Linked DNA regions of Homo sapiens: region 2 is linked to region 1. Evidence: promoter capture Hi-C in human tissues and cell types (Jung and others, 2019). All regions are on one chromosome and are shown on one strand. The core of a region is centred on a gene start or on the middle of the fragment in contact, and the rest is flanking DNA. Distances in the headings are between cores, read along the strand shown. Region 1 holds the start of CWF19L1 (CWF19 like cell cycle control factor 1). Region 2 has its middle 33 kb from the start of WNT8B.

Region 1 (5,392 bases), core at 1,158-3,657:
TCTTAGCTGTGTTATAACAAGAGTCAAAAAGTGTAAAAAAACTTAAAGTTTATAAAGTAAAAGTTACAGTAAACTAAGGTTTACTGTTGAAAATAATATTTTAATAAATTTAATATAGGTGAAGTGTACAGTATTCATAAAGTCTACAATACTGTAAAGTAATACATTCACTCACCTCTTACTAACTCACTCAGAGAAACTTTCAGTTCTGCAAACTCCATTCATGATAAGTGTCCTACACAGGTTGTGCCCTTTTTTTTTTTCCTGTATACAGTATTTTCTTTTTTTCTTTTTCTTTTTTTTTTTTTTTGAGACAGTCTCGCTCTGTCGCCCAGGCTGGAGTGCAGTGGTGCGATCTCGGCTCACTGCAACCTCTGCCTCCCAGGCTCAAGCCATTCTCCTGCCTCAACCTCTTGAGTAGCTGGGATTACAGGCGCCCGCTACCACACCCGGCTAATTTTTGTATGTTTAGTAGACACAGGGTTTCACCATGTTGGCCAGGCTGGTCTTGAACTTCTGACCTCAGGTGATCCACCCACCTCGGCCTCCCAAAGTGTTGGGATTACAGGCATAAGCCACCACACCCGGCCAGGTGTTTTCACTGTACCCTTTCTATATTTAAATACAAAAATGCTTACCATTGTGTTACAATTGCCTACAGTATTCAGTACAGTAACTTGACGTACAGCTATACCATTTAGCCTAGGTGTACAGGAAGCCATACCATCTAGGTCTCTGGAAGTACACTCAAAGATGTTCGCACAATGACGAAATCGCCTACCAACTCATTTCTCAGAACATAACCCTGCTGTTAAGCAATGGATTACTCTTATTTCCCAAGGCTCAATCCTAACATTCTCGGGAAGCCTTCTTGACTCCTATCATTAAGCCAAATACCCCTCTTATGCACTCTCCCAGATTCACGAATATTTTCTTCCCAAAAGTTACCACTATTGCAATTTTTTTTTTTTTTTTTTTGAGACAGGGTTTCAATCTGTCACCCAGCCTGGAGATCAGCAGCACGATCACAGCTCACTGCAGCATCGACCTCCCCAGGCTCAGGTGGTCCACCTGCTTCAGCCTCCCAATTAGCTGGGACCACCACGCCCGGCTAATTTTTTTTTTTTTCTGTATTTTTTGTAGAAACGGGGCCTTGCTATATTGCCCAGGCTGGTCTTGAATTCCTGGACTCAAGTGATTCTCTTGCCTTGGCCTCCGGAGTCGCTGGGATTATAGGCGTGAGCCACTGCGCCTGGCCCTATCACTATGGTAACTTTACATTTATCTGAATTCCTTTTTTTTTAGACGGAGTCTCACTCTGTTACCTAGGCTGGAGTGCAGAGGTGCAGTGTCGGCTCACTGTGCAACCTCCGCCTCCGGGTTCAAGCGATTCTCCTGCCTCAGCCTCCCAAGTAGCTGGGATTACAGGCACGCGCCACCACGCCTGGCTAATTTTTTTTTTTTGTATTAGTAGAGACGGGGTGTCACCACGTTGGCCAGGCTGGTCTCGAACTCCTGACCGCAAGTGATCCGCCCGCCTCAGCCTCCCAAAGTGCTAGGATTACAGGCGTGAGCCACCGCGCCCGGCCATTATTTGTATTGTTTTTTGTTTGTTTTGTTTTGTTTTGTTTTGTTTTGAGAGTCTCGTTCTGTCGCCCAGGCTGGAGTGCAGTGGCGCGATCTCGGCTCACAGCAACCTCCGCCTCCCGGGTTCAAGCGATTCTCCTGCCTCAGCCACCGCGCCCGGCCCATTATCTGGATTCTTTAGTACCTGTTCCTCTAGACTCTACGCTCCATTAAAGCAGGAACTCCATCTGTTGCAACACCTAGCACAGCGTCCGGCACACTGCAGTTCTTCAATAAATACTTGCTGCATGAAGCCCTCTCTTCACCACCACCCCCACCCCTCCTCCTCGCAAAAAAAAAAAAAAAAAAAAAATGCCCCAGGGAAGGGTCCCTATCTACTCTGTCCACCACTGCCCAGGGCCCATCAGTGGGCCCAATGGCTATTTGGCGAGTAAATAAATGGGGTCAGGAGAAACGAAGGGGAAAGGATGTGTCAGAGGCCAGGACTGCCCCCTAAGATGGAGGAGGCCTAACTCTGGGAGCTTCCGCCTCTCCGAACGAGCGTCGCCAAGAGAAACCCCCTCAGAAGCGAAAAGGGCCAGGAAAAGAGGTCAGCCCCGGCCAGGCAAAGACATCACCTAAGCTCCCCAGCAGCCCCGTGTCTCTCCGCCTTTTCCTTCTCCCTTCCCGTCATGGGAAAGACTCCCGCCCGTGTCGTCACCTACACACACGAAAGAGACACAGGGAGAGAGGCTTCCATTCACGGTCACTCACAGGCGCAGCGGTTTCTGTGCCATCTGTCCGAATAGTATGGGTTGCGACTGCCACCTAAAATTGGGAATGCGAATCCGCGCTCCCCGGAAAAATGCGACCGCGCAACAATCAGACGTCAGCGCCCTCCAGCCAATAACGGTTCACTTACTTACGGAGACCGCCGAGGGACAGAAGCCTCTCTCAGGTGTTTGCGCCTCAAGGAAGAATCAAGAGGGAAAGGGAGGAACGAAGGGAGAAAGAGAAAGTGACCGAAAGGATTCCAACTATGATTTTTTAAATTAAATTTCAGAGCACTTGAAGCGAATGAATGGCTAGGAAGTACAGAGCACAATGTCGGGTTCTAACCTAACCTAACCTAACCTAACCTAACCTAACCATATCGGTCTAGTGGGCAAGACAGACCCCCTCTATCCACGTTTTTTGTAAGTTTTTAACCTATCAAAAAGTTAAGAGGCCGGGCGTGGACGCTCACGCCTATAATCCCAGCACTTTGGAAGGCTGAGGCGGGCGGATCACTTGAGGTCGGGCGTTCAAGACCAGCCTGGGCAACATGGTGAAACCCCGTCTCTTCTAAAAATACAAAAATTAGCCGGGCATGGTGGAGAATTGCTTCAACCAGGGAGGCGGGGGTTGCAGTGAGTCAAGATCGCGCCATTGCACTCCAGCCTGGACAACAAGAGCGAAACTCCGTCTCAAATTAAAAAAAAAAAAGTTAAAAGAATAATGGCTATTACCTTGATTCAGTAAGTCTCAGCATGTTGGCAAATTTGCTTGTGTTCTCTTTCTCTCAAAGTGCCCAAGCCCTTCCATTCTCACTCAATCATTTGAAAGTAAAGTACAGGCCGGGCGCAGTGGCTCACGCCTGTAATCCCAGCACTTTGGGAGATCCAGACCATCCTGGCTAACACGGTGAAACCCCCTCTCTACTAAAAATACAAAAAATTAGCCGGGCGTGGTGGCACGCACCTGCAGTCCCAGTTACTCGGGAGGCTGAGGCAGGGGAATCGCTTGAACCCAGGAGGAGGAAGTTGCAGTGAGCCGAGATCGCGCCACTTCACTCCAGCCTGGGCGACAGAGCGAGACTCCGTGTCAAAAAATAAAATAAAATAAAGTGCGGACAACAGGAATACATCTCCATTTATCTCCTAAGATTAGGATATCCTCCTACATAACCGTAATACTATTAACACAGCTAAGAAAATTAACATTAATTATTCAATAATATTACCTAATATACATCCATATTTAAAGTTCTCCATATTTCCCTACAAACTGATTTTATATTTGGGGCTTGTTTTGATTCAGATGCAATCAAGTTTCACACTTGCATTTGGTTCTGTCTCTATTTTAATCTACAAAAGCCCTCCTACCTATTTGGTTTTAGTTTTTGTAATATTGACTTTTTTGAAGGGTTCAGGCCAAGTGGTAGGAAACAAGTGTGTAAGGAAATGGAAACAAGAGAGAGTTCCTGACGACTGCGGGGAAAGGAAGACTCATCAAGGGCATCTAAATAATTCAAAATTAATAAAACATAAGATTAAAGAAGAACTACAGGCCAGGCACAGTGGCTCATGCCTGTAATCCCAGCACTTTGGGAGGCTGAGGCGGGAGGTTCACTTGAGAACAGGAGTTCAAGGCCAACCTGGGCAACATAGCCAGACCTCGTCTCTACTACAAATTTAAAAAGAAAAAAAAAAAAGTTAGCTGGGCATGGTGGCCGTATGCCTGTACTCCCAGGTACTCCAGAGGCTGAGGTGGGGAGATCACTTGAGCCCAGGAGATGGAGGCTTCAGCGAGCTATTACCTTGCCACTGCACTCCAGCCTGGGTGACACAGCAAGCCCTGTCTCAATAACCAAACAAAACTACAAAGTTCTGGCTTTTCCCACAGCCTACAAGCCTTCTTTTTTGTTTGTTTCTTGCCTCATAACTGGTGGCTCTGCTTTGCTGGCACATAAGCATGCATTTTTTCCTACTCTTTGGATAATACAGCACTGCCCAGGAGTAGCACTCAAGACTGAATCTTGAAGAAGAGTAGAAGTTTGCCAAACATGAGCAGGTAATAATTCCCAGAAGAGGATACAAAAGTAAGACATAAAAACTCATCGTATTGAAAAATCAAAAGACTCCACGAAAAAGACTGTTAGAAATAATAAACGAATTCAGTAAAAGTTTCAGGATACCAAATCAACATACAAAAATCAGTAGCATTTATATGCACCAACAGTAAACAATCTGAAAAAGAAATCAAAAAAGCAATCTCATTTACAACAGCTACAAAGAATATAAACTACGTAGGAATCAATTTAACTAAAGAAATGAAAGATCTATACAAGGAAAACTATACAATACTGATGAAAGAGGACACACACACAAAAAGGAAAGATATTCCACGCTTATGGATTAGAAGAATTAGGCGGGCAGATCACGAGGTCAGGAGATCGAGACCTTCCTGGCTAACACGGTGAAACCCCGTCTCTCCTAAAAATACAAAAAAATTAGCCAGGCGTGGTAGCGGGCGCCTGTAGTCCCAGGTACTCGGAAGGCTGAGGCAGCAGAATGGCATGAACCCGCGAGGCAGAGCTTGCAGTGAGCGGAGATCCAGCCACTGCACTCCAGCCTCTAGCCTGGGCAACAGAGCGAGACTCCGTCTCAAAAAAAAAAAAAAGAAAGAAAGAAAAAAGACAACACTACCTAAAGCAATTTACAGATTCAGTCCAATCCCCATCAAAATACAAATGGCATTCTCTAGATAGAGCAAGGATCCCCAACCCCCGGGCTATGGACCAGTACCCATCAGAAACCAGGACGCACAGCAGGAGGCGAGCGGTGGGCAAGTGAGAATAACCGCCTGAGCTCACTTCCTATCAGATTAGTGGTGGCATCAGATTCTTACAGAGGCTGGAACCCTATTGTGAACTGCACATGCGAGGGTTCTACGGCGCTGCGTACCTTACAAGAATCTGATGCCTGATGATCTGAGGTGGAACAGTTTCATCCCCAAACCATCCCCCCATCCCTACTTTCAGCTCTCTTTTTCTAATGTAAATGTC
Region 2 (5,392 bases), core at 1,055-3,554, 160 kb after region 1:
ATAGAAAAGAACGAAATTATGTCCTTTGCAGCAACATGGATGCAGTTGGCAGGGGGGCATTATCTTAAGATAATTAACACAGGAACAGAACAGCAAATACCCATATTCTCACTTATAAGTGGGTACATATGGACATAAAAATGGCAATCATAGAAACTGTGGACTACTAAGTGGGGAGGGAGAGAAGCAAAGGTTGAAAAAGTAACTGTTAGGTATGATGTTCAGTACCTGGGTGATGGGATCATTTGTGCCCCAAACCTCAGCACCACAAAATGTACTCAGGTAACAAATCCGCACATGTACTCCCTGAATCTAAAATATAAGTTGAAAAATAAAAATTGAAATTATATTTAAAAAATAAATATGCCAGTTGTGGTGGCTCACACCCATAATCCCAGCACTTTGGGAGGCTGAGGTGGGAGGATTGCTTGAGCTCAGCAGTTCAAGGCTAGCCTCAACAAATTGCAAAACCCTGTCTCTACGAAAAATACAGAAAATTAGCTGGATGTGGTGGCACATGCCTATAGTCCCAGCTACTTGGGAGGCTAAGGTTGGAGGATCGTTTGAGCCCAGGAGGTGGAGGTTGCAGCAAGCCAAGACTGGGCCGCTGCACTCCTGCCTGGGCAACAAGAGTGAGACTCTATCTCAAAAAATAAAAAATAAAAATAAATAAAAAGATAAACAATAAATAAAACTATACACTTTAAAAAAAAAGAAAAAGAAAAAAGAAATTCAAGGAATTCTGGAGACCTAAAACATTTTCTGGAATATAAAGGGAATAACAGATGGGTCCATTTTCATAGATAAATACCACTTTTTAAAAAATTTTAAATAAAGACAGGGTCTTGCTATGTTGCCCAGGCTGGTCACAAACTCCTGGGCTCAAGTGATTCTCCTGCCTTGGCCTCCCAAGACGCAATTTTAAAAATTTTATTTATTTATTTATTTTTGTGCATTGTAAGATAAATACCATCTTCTGATTTGCTGTTATTGAAACCATGACTCTGAGTCCAAATACTCCTGTGTGGCCATACAACCTTACATTCGTACACTGTTAAATTTTAAACTGGTTCTTTTTTCTTCTTCTTTTTTTTTTTTTTTATTTGAGACAGAGTCTGGCTCTATTGCCTAGACTGGAGTGTAGTGGCGCGATCTCGGCTCACTGCAACCTCTACCTCCCGGGTTCAAGCGATTCTCCTGTCTCAGCCTCCCCGGTAGCTGAGATTTTAGGCACCCATCACCATGCCCGGCTAATTTTTTTTTTTTTTTTGTATTTTTAGTAGAGACGGGGTTTCACTATGTTGGCCAGGCTGGTCTCGAACTCCTGACCTCAAGTGATCTGCCCGCCTCAGCCTCCCAAAGTGCTGGGATTACAGGCATGAGCCACCACGACTGACCCTAAAGTGGTTCTTAGGTAAAGGGCTTTTGCATTTCATTCATCCTTGGGTTTGTTTTTGAGGTATTTCTTCATACGGAAGGACTTAGCAGATGCTTTGGCAGACTCGTCAATTCTGAGTCAAAGCACATATGTGATAAGAAGCATAGGGCGTAGTGTCCAAGAATATTTTGTTCTCCCTAGTTTTAAAGTTTAAAGCCTTGTTTGCCTTATTTAAAGAGATGTGTTTGACAATTATTCAGATTTTTTTTTTTTTTTTTTTTTTAAGACAGTCTCGCTCTGTTGCCAGGCTGGAGTGCAGTGGTGTGATCTCGGCTCACTGCAACCTCTGCCTCCTGGGTTCAAGCAATTCTCCTGCCTCAGCCTACTGAGTAGCTGGGATTACAGGCGAGCGCCACCACACCTGGCTAATTTTTGTATTTTTAGTAGAGACGGTGTTTCACCATGTTGGTCAGTCTGGTCTCAAACTCCTAACCTCTTGATCTGCCCGCCTCGGCCTCCAAAAGTGCTGGGATTACAGGCGTAAACCACCACGCCCAGCCTAGAATTTATATTTTAAAACAGCTTTGCAAAGCTGAGTTTTGACATTTTCTATTTTGATGACTCATTTGACTATCCAAATAATATTCTTAAAGTTTAACAATATCTGGGCTTCTAACTTCCAACACTTGGTGTTTGAAACTGAGGTACACAAAACAGAAGAGAACCAAAAACAAAAGCTCAAAATGTTTTACCACAACAATTATTTAATATTTCTTCTTCATTTGCTCATTGTATACTCAAAGTTTTGACTATAATGATTTTAGCTTGTAATCTGTATACTGTGAATCCTAATGACTGTTAAACAGATTAATATAGAGCTATATTCAACCTATGAGCTCAAAATCAAGTTATCTTGTGTGTAATAGATATTCAATCTTTATTTCATTCTTTCATTCAACGTACATTTATTGAGGGCTTTCTAAGGGGCAGGCACTATTCTAGATGCTGAGACTACATCAGTGAACAAAACAGACAAATCCTTGCTTCAGCGGAGCTGATATTTTAGTGGAGCTTATGTTCATTTATCCAAAAATCTCAAATAATTAATTTTGAAAATGAACTCCACTTGTATGGGGGAAGGGAGAGAAATGACAGGAACTCCAAATCATTTGAAAGTTGCAGCATGGTGTAAAAGGCCACCTGATTTGCAATCAGGAGACATTGATGGTAGCCCTAGTTGTATTAATCCTTCTTGTTATTTTCTTATTCTTAGTTTTCTCATCTGTTAAATAATGACATTGAATTTCATAATCTCAAAAGTCTCTATGGATTAAATGATTGAGCAGTTTATTATTCTATGATATGTAACAGGCATTTACTAAATTAACATAAATTTACATACAATGAAATGCACAGATTACAGGGATTTATTTTTTAAAGTAAAGACATGTCTAATGAGTCATCCTAAACTCCTATACCTTCTGTGGCTGTAGTACTTTATAGAGTTATATATGATGTTCAGAGTAATGGTCCTGAGGCATTACAGGGTGCTGAATCAGTTAAGAGAATATTCAGTTATGTTCATGAGACTACTTATTAAAGCACGAAAATGGACTGAGGCAATTTAGAGAGATTTCAAACAAAAAGTGTCTCTCATTAACCCATACTTAATCAGAAGCTCAATTAACCAGTATACTCTGTTCCAAGATTTTACAGTTTTTAGACTTATTTTTCTTTACAACCATGACAATATTGCTTCTAAATCCCAGCCATTTCATATGTATACTGCTATAATCAATGGATTATTGCTCCCTCAAACAATATGAAATGCTTCTACCAAAACAATCACTTCAGAGATAGAAAAACAATTGTTTAAATATGAAACAGACTTGAGTGAGCTAAGATTGTGACTTTTGTTTTAAAACACTCTAGATGTATTCTATCGAATATATGTGCAATTAAAAAGCAAATTAAAAATAAGAAATAGCCAGGCATGGTGGCTCACATCTGTAATCCCAGTACTTTGGGAGGCTGAGGTAGGGGAATAGCTTGAGTCCAGGAGTTTGAGATCAGCCTGGGCAACATAGTGAGACATTATCTCTACAAAAAATAAACAAAATTAGTAGGGCGTAGTTGTGAGTGTCTGTAGTCCCAGCTACTCGGGAGGCTGAGATGGAAGGATCACTTGAGCCCAAGACATGGGGGCTGCAGTGAGCAGAGACTGCACCATTGCACTCCAGCCTGGGTGACAGAATGAGACTGTGTCTCAAAAAATAAAATAAAGTAAAATAAAATTAATAAATAATAGCAGGAAGTCCTCTTCTATTCATTGTACCTGAGAATCTAAAGCTAAAGAACAATTCCTTGAGATTTTAGTGGATACATAAACTGGTTCAACTCTACAGAGCAATAAAAGAAGATTTAAAAGAGTTTGGTTATGCAATATTTGATTGTCACATTCAGGGAGAGTTTTAAGCTTGGCCTATATACTAAATCTGTGTACTCATTCATTCTTTTGAACTTATTCCAAAATTACAACTTTCTTTCACAGAGTACCTCACATTCCACTCATTTTCCTTAAATTGGTAAGGAAATCGTATTTTATTTTATGTATTTATTTATATTTTATTTTATTTTATTTTTTTGAGATGGAGTCTCACCCTGTCGCCCATGCTGGAGTGCAGTGGCGTAATCTCGGCTCACTGACCTCTGCCTCCTGGGTTCAAGTAATTCTCCTGCCTCAGCCTCCCGAGTAGCTGGGACTATAGGTGCCCGCCACCACGCCCAGCTGATTTTGTATTTTTAGTAGAGACGGGGTTTCACCATATTGGCCAGGCTGGTCTTGAACTTCCGACCTTGTGATCCGCACCCGCCCCCCCCCCCCCCACCCGGCCTCCCAAAGTGCTGGGATTACAGGAGTGAGCCACCATGCCCGGCCTGTGTATTTATTTTTGAGACATAGTCTGGCTCTGTCGCCCAGGTTGGAGTGCAGTGGCGCAATCTCAGCTCACCTCCTGGGCTCAAATGAATCTCCTGCCTCAGCCTCCTGAGTAGCTGGGACTACAGATGTGAGCCACCACACCCGGATAATTTTTTTTATTTTTTATTTTTAGTAGAGACGGGGTTTCACCATGTTGACCAGGCTGGTCTTGAACTCCTGACCTCAGGTGATCCACCTACCTCAGTCTCCCAAGGGGGAAATCTTATTTCTTTGACCATGAACATCTCCTCAGAAATTATCATTGCCCACAATAGCATTTCCATTTTGTGAAAAAGCTAGAACCCTAATATCCTCCTTTCATGTCACTCTCTTTTGTCTTTTATCAGTTACTTCCTTTCATTGGTCATTTAAGTCAATCTTTTAGAAACGTTATGTTTTATTCCTTTCTCTCTCCTGGTTCTCCTTTACTTCTCACTCTTTTGTTTATTAATTATTATTTTAAAGAGACAGGGGTCTCCCTATGTTGCCCAGGCTGGTCTGAACTCCTAGACTCAAGCAGTCCTCCTGCCTTGGCTTCCCAAAGTGCTGGGATTATAGGTGTGAGCCACCGCACCCAGCCCGCTTCTCAGTCTTTTAAAACACCTTTCCTCATTATTCAAACTAACAACCTAAACATTTGTATTGAGGACATAACACACACCCAACAATGTGTGTGGTGAGTGTTCAAGGGATAGGTGTGATCTGGGCTTAGAGCTTGCAGTCAAAGAGCTCACAGTCTAGTTAGGGAGATAGCAAACATATCAGAAAAAACAAGACAACAAGAAAAACATTAACAGTAAACCACAGGGCTCTGGCTGCCAGTGTAACTCAGGAGTTCAGAAAACCAAGCAGCTAGAAGAGTCAAAGTAGAGAAATAGGCCAGGCGCAGTGGCTCACGCCTGTAATCCCAACACTTTGGGAGGCTGAAGGGGGTGGATTATCTGAGGCCAGGAGTTCAAGACCAGCCTGGCCAACATGGTGAAACCCCCGTCTCTACTAAAAAATACAAAAATTAGCCGAGTGTGGTGGCAGGC

The links. Contacts are between HindIII fragments. The study calls those that stand out against the background at their distance.
Region 2: a contact is called between a fragment that was not itself captured here and the fragment with the promoter of CWF19L1 in region 1, in 3 of the 25 tissues and cell types used here (hippocampus, lymphoblastoid cells and thymus).

Annotation. Positions count from the first base shown.
Region 1 is chr10:100,265,231-100,270,622 of GRCh38, forward strand. CWF19L1 (CWF19 like cell cycle control factor 1) reads right to left here and starts at 2,408. Exons shown (of 14, transcript NM_018294.6): 1 at 2,341-2,408. The coding sequence starts at 2,363. RefSeq lists an enhancer at 139-388. The HindIII fragment of the contact is 27,589 bases long and covers 1-5,392 here.
Region 2 is chr10:100,427,593-100,432,984 of GRCh38, forward strand. No RefSeq gene overlaps it. Among named protein-coding and RNA genes, the nearest start is that of WNT8B, 33 kb to the right of the region's middle. The HindIII fragment of the contact is 6,021 bases long and covers 1-5,315 here.